Linked DNA regions of Homo sapiens: region 2 is linked to region 1. The links are contacts of gene promoters, found by promoter capture Hi-C in blood cells and fetal thymus (Javierre and others, 2016). All regions are on one chromosome and are shown on one strand. The core of a region is centred on a gene start or on the middle of the fragment in contact, and the rest is flanking DNA. Distances in the headings are between cores, read along the strand shown. Region 1 holds the start of DGKD (diacylglycerol kinase delta). Region 2 overlaps ATG16L1 (autophagy related 16 like 1).

What was found. Contacts are between HindIII fragments. The CHiCAGO score rates a contact against its expected background, and 5 or more counts as called.
Region 2: a fragment that was not itself captured here is called in contact with the fragment with the promoter of DGKD in region 1 in 1 of 17 cell types (total B cells); the score reaches 6.8 in total B cells.

What each region holds. Positions count from the first base shown.
Region 1 is chr2:233,351,494-233,357,084 of GRCh38, forward strand. DGKD (diacylglycerol kinase delta) reads left to right here and starts at 3,001. Exons shown (of 30, transcript NM_152879.3): 1 at 3,001-3,181. The coding sequence starts at 3,026. RefSeq lists enhancers at 2,451-2,510, 2,651-2,700 and a silencer at 2,951-3,190. The HindIII fragment of the contact is 8,442 bases long and covers 1-5,591 here.
Region 2 is chr2:233,267,696-233,273,286 of GRCh38, forward strand. ATG16L1 (autophagy related 16 like 1) reads left to right here. Exons shown (of 18, transcript NM_030803.7): 6 at 2,307-2,372; 7 at 5,271-5,357. Among named protein-coding and RNA genes, the nearest start is that of ATG16L1, 19 kb to the left of the region's middle. The HindIII fragment of the contact is 347 bases long and covers 2,755-3,101 here.

The DNA of each region.
Region 1 (5,591 bases), core at 1,751-4,250:
ATTATTAAACTAAAGCCCCATACTTAATTCTGATGTCCTCAGCTTTTACCTAATGTCCTTTTTCTGTTCTGGGATCCCATCTAGGAACCCACGTGACGTTTAGTCATCATGTCTCCTTGGCTCCTCTTGTCTGTGACAATCTCAGTACTTTCTGGTAATTGCAGATTTCCTCCTCTCCAGCCACGGTTTCTGCTTCTTAACCGTCACGTTCATGCCCTTGCCTCCTTGACTCTAAAATGATGAGTTCTGGGGCCTGGATGTCCCCTGAGCTCCTAACAGGTGTAGGCAACAGCATTTATTATTATTATTATTATTATTATTATTTTTGAGACGGAGTCTCGCTCTGTTGCCCAGGCTGGAGTGCAGTGACACAATCTCGGCTCACTGCAACCTCTGTCTCCGGGGTTCAAGTGATTCTCCTGCCTCAGCCTCCCGAGTAGCTGGAACTACAAGCGCCCGCCACCACGCCAGGCTAATTTTTTGTATTTTTAGTAGAGACGTGGTTTCACCGTGTTAGCCAGGATGGTCTCGATCTCCTGACCTCGTGATCCGCCTGCCTCAGCCTCCCAAAGTGCTGGGATTACAGGCGTGAGCCACCGCGCCCGGCCGGCAACAGCATTTTAATGGCCTCCCTATTTCTAGTCTTCTCTCCTATGGATCATTCTCTGCCCAGACACATGAGTTCCTCTGCTTTCCCAAACCCCCTTGCCAGCTCCAGTGCCCACGGGACTGAAGTCCTTGCCTCAGAGCAGGGCCGGGAGGCTACTCTGCATCCTGGCGCCGCTGCTCACCTCCCTGCCTCCCGCACCCGCCTTGCTACCGGCTTCACCAAAATCCCTCGTCACCCGCTCTGCTCACCTGGTAGGGGTAGTCTCCCCGTTTTTGCGTTTTCCTGGGAAACTCCCTTCATATCTGACCTCTCCATTCCAATCCCAAACCCTGCTCAGGTCACCCGGCTCCCCCGCGGAATGAAGGAATGAACTGTTTCTTCCCCTGTGCGTCCCCGCCCCTCCTCCGCCTTGCACACTCCTCCAGGGTTTTGCCTCTGTGTATCACTCCACATGTAGTTAATTGATAGAAAAGTCCCAACCCTGTGGGGAGGCTGGAGCCCTTTGTGCCTGCATGAGTTCCCTAGGGCTGCCAGAGCACTGCACCATAGGCCGGGCGGCTTCCACCACAGGAATTGACGCTCTCGGTTCTGGTGGCTGGAAGTGCGAGATCACGGTGTCGGCAGGGGGAGTTCCATCGGAGGCCTTTCTCCTTGGCTTGTAGATGCCATCTTCTCCCTGTGTCTTCACATGGGCTGCCCTCTGTGTGTGTCTGTGTCCTCATCTCCTCTTTTTATGAGGACGCCAGTCATACCGGATTAGGGATCACCCCTGTGACCTCATTTTAACTTCATTACCTTTTTAAAAACCTTAACTCCAAATGCAGTCACATGCTGAGGTACTGGGGGTTAGGACTTCAACATATGAATTACGGGAGGACACAGTTCAGCATGCGACTGTGCTGCAGAACTTTCTGGGGGGACGGGGGAAGTGTTTTATATTTGTGCTATCCAGCGTGGCAGCTGCTAAGCCACATGCGGCTACTGAGTCCCTGAAATGTGGCTCCTGTGGCTGAGGAACGGAATGCTGAATTCTAACTAATTGAAATTTAAGTAGCCACATGTGGCTAGTGGCTATAGTACCCTGGGGCACCATGGGGCCTTCGGCCTGTCCCGGACTGTTCCTGCCTTAGGCCTTGTCCTCCTCTGTCCTGGCCGTGAGCCCATGCCCCTGGCCGTGTCCCCATGCCAGATGCCACTCTGCAGCCCCAGGTCACTGCCCAGGGCGGCGCGGCCAGCGAATGCCTATTGGCAGGCGAGGTCTCTAGCGGCAGCCCTTTGACAGGGAGAGGGCACACCTGGGCAGTCCCTTACTGATTTGCCCCTCAGAGCAGGGCAGACAGATGGACAGCATTTCCTCTGGGTGGCACCAAGCCCTGCTCCACCTGGATGGCACCAAAAACTTAGCTGATCTCATCTCCAGCTTCGCTTCCTCCTCTTCTGCCCAGAGCAGCGCTGGACCCCACCCGCCCACCATCCAGCAGCCCCCCTGGGAAACATGGGACTCGTTCTGGTCACCTCTGTCTCCCTCCAGTCGCTGGTCACTCCCCACCTGGATCTCAGTCCACGTCTCTATCTCTCAGCCCCTCGGTAATCCAGGGCGTCCACCTGCCCTGATAACTTCAAAGCCCGGATCACAGGCCCCAGCGTGGTGACCCAGCCCCGCCCAGGGTTAAATCCCTCAAGGGCTTCCTGCTGCCTTCCATCCCCTTATCTGGTTTCCAAAGCCCGCTTCGACCTGCCCGCCCCGAGGCTCATATCTTAATGCCATTTTCCTTGCTCTAAGCACCAGCTTCCCTTTCTTCCCCCGTCTTCGCCCAACACTCGTTCTTTCTTGCCTCCAGGCCTTTGCACAAATCTGGTCTCTGCCTAGAACATGGTTCCCTCTCTAGTCACAACTCCTGCTCACATTTTCCATCTCTCCTTAAGAACCGTTTTCTCCAGGAAGCCTTCCCAGATGGAGCGGTGCATCCCAGCTCTGGCGTCCCGAGGCCCGTCCCAGTACCGGGGTCTCTTTCCAGCACGCGCGCGCGCATTCGAGCTCGCCCCAAACTCGGCCACACAAGGCTGGGCAGGACAGACACAGCCCCAGCCTGCCTGAGGTTACCTACATTCTGATGCGGAAGAGTAGAGATGTTTTAAGAAGTGAATATAGAAACAAGAACACAAACGGCGTTCCAGAAATAACACACAGAAGCCACGGCCCGGAGAGGTGGGCGGGGGGCCCGGGACGCTTCAGGTGGGGGCGGGGAGGGGCCGCGCGGCGCCGTCTGCAGCTGCGCGCATGGCCGGCAGGGGGCGCGGCGGGGAGAGGCGGGAGGCCGCCCCCACCGCCCCCGGCCCGGCCCGCCCTCGGCCCCGCCCCTCCCGCCGGCCCCGCCCCGCCCCCGCCCGCGGTGCGCGCGCTGGCCCGGCAGCATGGCGGCGGCGGCGGGCGCCCCTCCGCCGGGTCCCCCGCAACCGCCTCCGCCGCCGCCGCCCGAGGAGTCGTCCGACAGCGAGCCCGAGGCGGAGCCCGGCTCCCCACAGAAGCTCATCCGCAAGGTGTCCACGTCGGGTCAGATCCGACAGAAGGTGAGCCCGCGGCGCGGCGGCCCGGGCGCGCGCCCCTCACGCCGCGGCAGCCCCGGCCGAGGCCCGTGGCCCTGCCCGAGCGGCCGCCCAGGCCCGGCTCGGCCCGGCCCGGGGTCCCGCGGGCGTCACCGCCCCTGTCGAGCGTGCCCCGCCGCTGTAACGGGCCGGCGCCCCGGGCGGAGCGCGCGGCCCCCGACGGACGGCGGGCGGCTGTGGGGCCGGGCGGGGGGCGCGCAGGTGGGCGCCCCGGGCGCCGCGCGCTGGGCGGGGGGCGCGCGCCGAGTTGGGCCGCGAGGACCCGGAGGAAACTGAGGCCTAGATGCAGGGGACTGCGCTCGTGCCACCGAGCGGGTCCCACGCGGGGGCTCCCGGCTGCGCCCCGCGGGCGTCCGCGGTCCCCAAACCCCGGTTCTGCACGTTTCTCAGGAGCGGTCGGGTGGTGTCCCGCGAGTGCCCTGCAGACTTCCCTGTGGTGCCCTCAGAAGTCCGCTCGGACCCGGGTGCGAGGGATCACCCCTTCACCCCTTCATCCCAAAAGGGAAGGAAGGGATGCGCGTTCAGTGACCGTCTCTCTCAGCAAAGCCGGGACCGCGCACCCGCTTGGCACCCAACTCTCCACGGAGAACTCCTGACGCTAAATGTTAGATAAAGACGCACGTCCTTTTTGCAGGAGGAAAGTTGCACCGTTTGTTTTCCCATTGTGCTTCCTATTGAAAACAGCTTACGGTTTTTGCTCCAGGTGAGCCCGCCCGGTTAGAACACTGCTTCCTCAGGCAGGTGGCTGGACAGGTGGCTGCGAGCAGGCTGGGTCCCTGGGGCAGCTCTGGCAGATCCGGTTGGCACGGACTTTCTCCTCCTGCTGCAGTGCGCTTTTCCTCCGGGGCGGATTAGGTTCAGCCGTTCCCTTCACCGTGGGAGCCTTCTCTTCTGTCAGCCTTTGATACCTGCGATGGGGGAACCTGAGGTCCTAACATGTTACAAACAGGTTTGTTGTGAAGTGCTCCAGTTATTCAGCAAATAGGTACCGAACACCTGCTTTGTTCCGGGTATAACAGTAGCAGTAGTGATGATAATGATAGCAATAGCAAATAACAATTCTTTAATAAGCCTTCTATGTGCCAGGCACTTTCTTGGGTTAGCTTTACAGCACTTGACATGGTTAGTTTATTAGTACTGGTGAGAACCCAATAAGTTGGATGCTATCATCTCCGTCTTTTGGAATTGGAATAGAAATAGAATCAAGGTTAAATGACTTGCCCAGGGTGTCACAGGTCGTAAATGTGGATGTGTGTTGGAACCATGGTCAGGACCGTAAGATGGAAGGCAGTTTCTACACCTAGGGATTCTCAGTCTAGTTGGGAGATGGACGCCTGTGCACCTGACATGACAACATTGTAAGTGCCGCGGAAACTCGGGGCAGAGACCTGCCCTGGGGAGGCAGGAGTGGTTTCCTTTAAGGTGAGATCTTGAGGGATAAAGAATTCACCAGGCTAAGTGGGTAAGAAATGGCCTTCTACATATTTGAACCTTGCGTCTAGAGCTTTAGGCACAACTGCGAAATGATCAGAAGTTGGGCCAGAGGTGGATCACGTTGATTAGACTTATTAGTTGGAAGGGTTGGTTAGGGCTGAATTTCGAAGGGGTGGTCCTTTGAGGGGTTTGCTTTTTGGCCTTGGGCAAGAGGTGGCCACAGAGGATTGTTCAAAGTATGGGGGTGATGGATCAGATGTGCTTTTGGGAAGATCTCCACATAGCCCTAAATGATACTGATAGGAGTTGCTTTCTCCTGTTGCCCAGGCAAGGTACTGACCAGTGTGGGGTAGATCATGTGATTTACAAGGTTGATTAAGATCAAGATTGTGTTGAGAGAGATTTGATTCCTGGGAGATTCCAGTGTTTAGAATTTTGTTGGTTAGGAGGTGTTTTTGCTTTCCTTCTTTTTTCTCCTAAAACAATAGCTGCTATACCAGCTGTTCTGGTTGAGGAGGAGTGATGGGTAGACTGTTAAAAATACACCCCGAGGACTTAGAGTTTCTGAATACAGTCACATCTGCTGTACAGATAGCTTAAGGCTGATTTTTCTTCTGAGTTGTTAAGAGATTGTCAGAATGTGGGAATGCGAGGTTGACTGTATGTAATAGCTCCATTTTTTTTTTTTCCAGCAGATAAGCCATTCACAAAATTCCTCTGGTATCTATGGTACATAATAGAAACATCAAAAATGGTATGGGGTAGCAGTCTGAGTCTAAAAAGAAAAACAGAACTCACCTTAAGTATTTGGAACAGAAGGAATGTAATCTAGGGGAGTGGTCACACAGGTGATGTGAGAACTGAGAATGCAGGCTGCAATGAGGCAAGCCGGAGATGAGGCAACAAGCAGGAAACTGCTGCCACCCCTAAGTTGGAGGGT
Region 2 (5,591 bases), core at 1,678-4,177, 84 kb before region 1:
CCCCAGGTGAGCTGGATGCTGCTAGGTTGCATGTTCACGTCAGCTGAGAGGCTGCTGGAGGGAGAAGTTGGGGAGATGTGTGGTGATGCCAAGGAAGAGCCCCTGAGCAGTGCAGTGGACGGGGGGTAATGCACATTTCCTAGTGAAAATGCTGTCCTCATTCCCTAGCCCACCCTTTGAAGCATCTTCCTAGGGCTGTGCACTTGGAGGTATCATGTGATTGCAGATGTGGGACCTGAGGAGTCTTCATTACTTTGCTTAGGTAGCCTCTCCTCCTAGAAGCCTTCCTGCGTCATTACCCACTTCCTGCCTCCCCAGCTTAGATGTCCCTCATCTTCCTGCTTCAGGCAGCTGTGGTTTACCTGGGCCATATGTAGCACACTGTTTTGAGATAGCTCTTCACACTCTGCCTCCTTCCCTTATGCTGCCACGTGTCCCTGTGGTCAGGCACAGTGGCTGCTTCATAAGATGCACTCAGGGCTGGGCACGGTGGCTGCTGCCTGTAATCCCAGCACTTTGGGAGGCCAAGGCAGGTGGATCACCTGAGGTCAGGAGTTCAAGATCAGCCTGGCCAACATGGCAAAACCCTGTCTCTACTACTAAAAACACAAAAATTAGCTGGATGTAGTGGCAGGTGGCTGTAATCCCGGCTACTCAGGAGGCTGAGACAGGAGAATCGCTTGAACACAGGAAGCGGAGATTGCAGTGAGCCGAGATGATGTCACTGCCCTCCAGCCTGGGTGACAGAGAGAGACTCTGTTTGAGCTATTAAAGACCTTTCCTTTCAGCTATAGTGATGAATCCCTGATAACAGGTGGTGTTTTCCTCTCCCTGTGACCCTAAGTCAAGTTTTTATCTCCACCTTGCAGAACTGGGACCTGAAGTTATAGAAAGTAGATTTCAGACAGTCAACAAGTGCTTTAATCATAGAGTAGTGGTACTCACACACCTTATACCGAGATTCTGGTTTTTCCTCAAAGAGAGTTAGTTCACAGTTGTCTCTACCAGCTAAGACAATTTGGATAAATTGTATTTTTGGTAATTTGCCCTGTAAAACTTATTTTTCATCTTCCAGGTATAAAATCAAGAGTGTAATGCACTTTTTAAGCTATACCCACATCCCTTCCCAAGATTCTGCTATACTGCCTAGAGGACTTTCCTTCATTTTGAGAATTACCACCGTGGTAAAAACTTACGAGAAATTTCAGCAGAATTCTTGATTGCAGCTCAGTAGCATTGCTAGAGTTCTACATTAGGGGTCCTCCACCTAGCAGGCATAGCCATAGTTAGAAGTGAAATTTATCAAAGAAGAGAGAGTAAGGTCAGGGTTAGGAGTTAGGGAGTTTCTGAATTTAGGACTTGAATGAGAGACAAAAATGATTCTGAGAAGGGGAGTTAGTGGATGAGACTTTGACCATGTTAAAAATTTGTCACAGCCAAGACTTCTATGTCAAGCTTTAGTAAATTAAAGTTACTAATGTTATGTAAACTTTGACATTTCAAGAATCTCACTATACCTCAGTTTCCTCATTTATAAATGGCAATAATGATATTTACCTCAAAAGGTTGTTATAAGGCTTAAATGAGTTAAAGTCTGTAAAGTAATTAACAATGTCAGGTAAGGGGAAGTCCTAAGTAAATCTTCACTGTTAGTAATCAGGCTGTGGGTGTGTTAATGCAGGTTGAGCATCCCATATCCCAAACTCCACAATGCTCCAGAATCTGAAACTTCTTGAGTGCCAACATGACACTCAAAGGAAGTACTCATTGGAGCACTTCAGATTTCCGATTTACCATTAATTTCAACTGAATTTCATATTTAGACCTGGATCCTGTCCTCAAGATTTATATCATGTTTATGCAAAACTTCAAAATCTGAGAAAATTCGAAATCTGAAACACTGGTAGTCCCAAACATTTCGAGTAATGGATGCTCAACCCGTGTAAGACTATTTGCTGCAGAAAACTTAAGTCACAACCATGACTAACCCTCAGTGAGCCTGAGGCATGTGTCTATCCTAAGATACCCTTGGTCCCAGAAGGCAGGCCTCCTCCTTTGCCAGTTCACTGCTTTCTCTAATAATGTGGCCTATCTCTCTTCTAGGCTTTACTCTGAAACCCTTTAAAAGGGGAGCCTTACTGATGTTATGAGTTTGGGCTTGTGACTTTTGAGTATTTTGCTCAGGGTAGTTGTTATTTTACATGCACTGAATGTGTTATTAGAACTGGTGGCTTCTAGAGAGCCCAAACCCCGTGCTTTCTTAAGCAGACATAAATGGTGGGCTTTTTTTTTTTTTTTCCCAACAGGAGGCGGCAAGCCCGGCTGCAGAAAGAGCTTGCAGAAGCAGCAAAGGAACCTCTACCAGTCGAACAGTAAGTAAAGATAAATGAATCAAAACTGTGTTTCTGAAAATTTGGCTCTCTTAAAAGTTTTGTTTTTATTTTTTTTTTTGTTTGGTTTTTTTTGAGACAGGGTCTTGCTCTGTTGCCCAGGCTGGAGTGCAGTGGTGTGATCATAGCTTCTAATGTTTTTATTTCTGTAAAATCATCTTACAGATTTTAGAAAGAAAAATGTTAAAGGAAGAAAATGAAAACATACAGTTCTTCCACCACTCAGAACTAACATCCATATATCATTTTAATTGTATTTTGCTGGCTTCTAATTTCTCACAAATCATGTACTGATACGGCCTTTGACCCTATTTCTGATTACTTACTTGAGATAGATTATTGAAAATAAAATTTGATGGGTCAAAGCTTTTGGAACATCACCAAATAACCTTCCAAAAAGTTTGTGTTCATCAGCTGTGAATGTGAATTCTAACTTCCTGCACTCAGTACCCGTTACTGCCTCACTGTTTCCTGTTGACACTTTGAACGATCAGTTTTCTGCCTCTTAATTGTGCCTGCCATGTAATGCGGTGGGGTTTTTGTTGTTGTTGTTTTGTTTGTTTTTTCCCTCCTTGCTCCCTTTGGTTTGTAACTTAAAGTGGAAACTTAAGCGAAAACTAAGATCTCTTGGAACAAAAGGAATCAAACTAGTTCTGGAGCTTTTCCTAATCTGCCTACAAGTTAAGGTGGGGTATCTTCTCTGAGATTTGAAGCTTTCATAGTGGTAGAAAAGAGTTTCCTTCGCTCTAGGATGTTTCTTTTCTATTGAAATGTGTTTTGGAATATAGTTTTAGAGTTTTGATCCACTATTTTTTAAAATGTTGGTTGCTTCCCTGTAAGTGGAGGGGTTTAAATTCAACTAGGAGTCATTCACCAACTAACGTCTTAATTTACAAAGAAACAAAGGTTCCCATATCATGCCTTTGCTTTAGATATGTAGGGTACGTGTGTGTCTGCACTCTCAGATGTGGAAGATTAATCTCAGTTGTATTTTCCCAAGCCACAAAGTAAATAAATAGTTGACCTGGAAATGAGATTTGGTTTCTTCAGAATAACAGCTTATAAAAGTGTCATTTGCATAACCGGGTTGACTGGGATAATTTAGACAGGTTGAGCATCCTGCCCAAGATCATACAGGAAGGGGCCGAGGTAGGATGCAAACACAGGGCTGTAAAAGCCTGTTATTTTATTTTGTATTTTATTTTATTTTGAGATGGAGTTTCACTCTTGTGGCCCAGGCTGGAGTGCAATGGTGCAATCTCAGCTCACTGCAACCTCCGCCTCCCAGGTTTAAGCGACTCTCCTGCCTCAGCCTCCCAAGTAGCTGGGATTACAGGCATGCGCCACCACGCCCAGCTAATTTTGTATTTTTAGTAGAGATGGGGTTTCTCCATGTTGGTCAGGCTGGTCTCGAACTCCTGACTTCAGGTGATCTGCCCGCCTTGGCCTCCCAAAGTGCTGAAATTACAGGCATGAGCCACCGAGCCCGGCCTAAGGCCTCTCCTTAATCTCTATGCTTCCCTAAGGAGTTTCTGGGTCAGAGGACATACATCTTTGAAAGGTTTTGATAACTTAGCAAATGCTAGTGTTTTCTTGTGGTCCCGGGCCTAAGCACAGTTGCAAGTACTTAAAACCATAAAATTCTATTTTCAACAGGACATTGTCAAAGGCTCAGCTCATATTTGCAGTTCCTGTCTTTGCAGTTCTCCTCTCTTCCTTGTATGGGCACAGGTGACTCTCGCAAACCTAGATCCCTGGGAAAGCCAATCAAGAAAATAAAGCACAGCCTTGTCCTTTTTCTTTCGACCTGCCTTTTATTCCCTTCTACATCCTGGCCAAGAATGTGGTGCAATAATTACACATAGTCCTGGAATAAATAGCTAAGGAAAATAAATTTACTTTGACCAGGTTTAACTTGCTTAGTAACAGGTTCTTAAGTATATATTTACCTAATCCAGATAATTATTTATTGAAAAGGAAAAATCTTTCTGTCAAGTTCTTATGAATCCAAACAGTAGGTGATGAAATCTTGGGTTATTACATTTAATTATCTTCTCCATGAAGGTTGCATCTCAGTAGGAGGTCATTAAGACCAAAATAATTACTTGCCCTCCTCCAAGTAGGAAAGACGTGGCCCAGAAAAATGAGGAAGGGGGATTCCAGAGGTACTTTGCATCCGCTGGGATAAACAGCAACAAAGGGAGCATGTCCTATGACTTGATTATGTCATTTGAAGTGTGATGGGCTCTCCTAATGTCAGAGACACTATGTATTTAAGCATAAAATGCGCAGAGTCAAAAATGCATAGTGTTTAAATTTTGCTTTTCTATTTTTTAAAGTAATATTTGAAACTGGGTTAAGTTGGCTGTTGATTTCATGGCCCATTTAGCCATCCCTTCTTTCCCTGAATTCTCCCTACACTGTTGTTTTATATTCCATAGCTGCTGCCCCTAACTACCCTAGGTACCCCTCAGCCCTTGTGTCATGGGAACTGTGCTTGGTGAGTACTGCAGCCCTTCAACAGTGATGCTGACTGTTGATGGAATGCCCTACTTTGGCACTGGTTATGTGGTTATAGACTCAACAGATCATATTTTATTGCTTCAAGTGGGAACTGTGTTTATACCTAAAAGGATCAAAAGCTCACTTTTAAATTTATTCTCAGTTGAAATTCTGGATTTGATTTGAACAGGTTAAATGTTTATTGTAGTGTTGTTCAGAACATGGCAGCTCTTCCTTTTTCTCCAAAGAATCTTTAACGCATTGCTGTCATAGCCAAGTGGTTTAGGATCTAACTAGAAAATGACATTAGCATTTGCGGAACCGATTAATCACAGAACTGTTCAGGAGAATCAAAGAATGTCTTGCCTTTCTTTCCAGGGATGATGACATTGAGGTCATTGTGGATGAAACTTCTGATCACACAGAAGAGACCTCTCCTGTGCGAGCCATCAGCAGAGCAGCCACGTAAGTAGGCAGGTTTGGGCCAGGGAAAAGACAGCTTGAGGAGCAATATGAAGGCACATCTGTGGACATGACAAAGAATGCAGTCAGATGCACCCAACCCCTTACCCCTTTTCTGGGACACCCAGCGTCGAACACACCACAGAGGTGTCCAGTCTTTCTCAGTTCACCTCTGCTTAATGGGAGGGAAGCAGAACACGGGTGGCTTCAAATGCTTCTAAATACAAAAAAATGTAG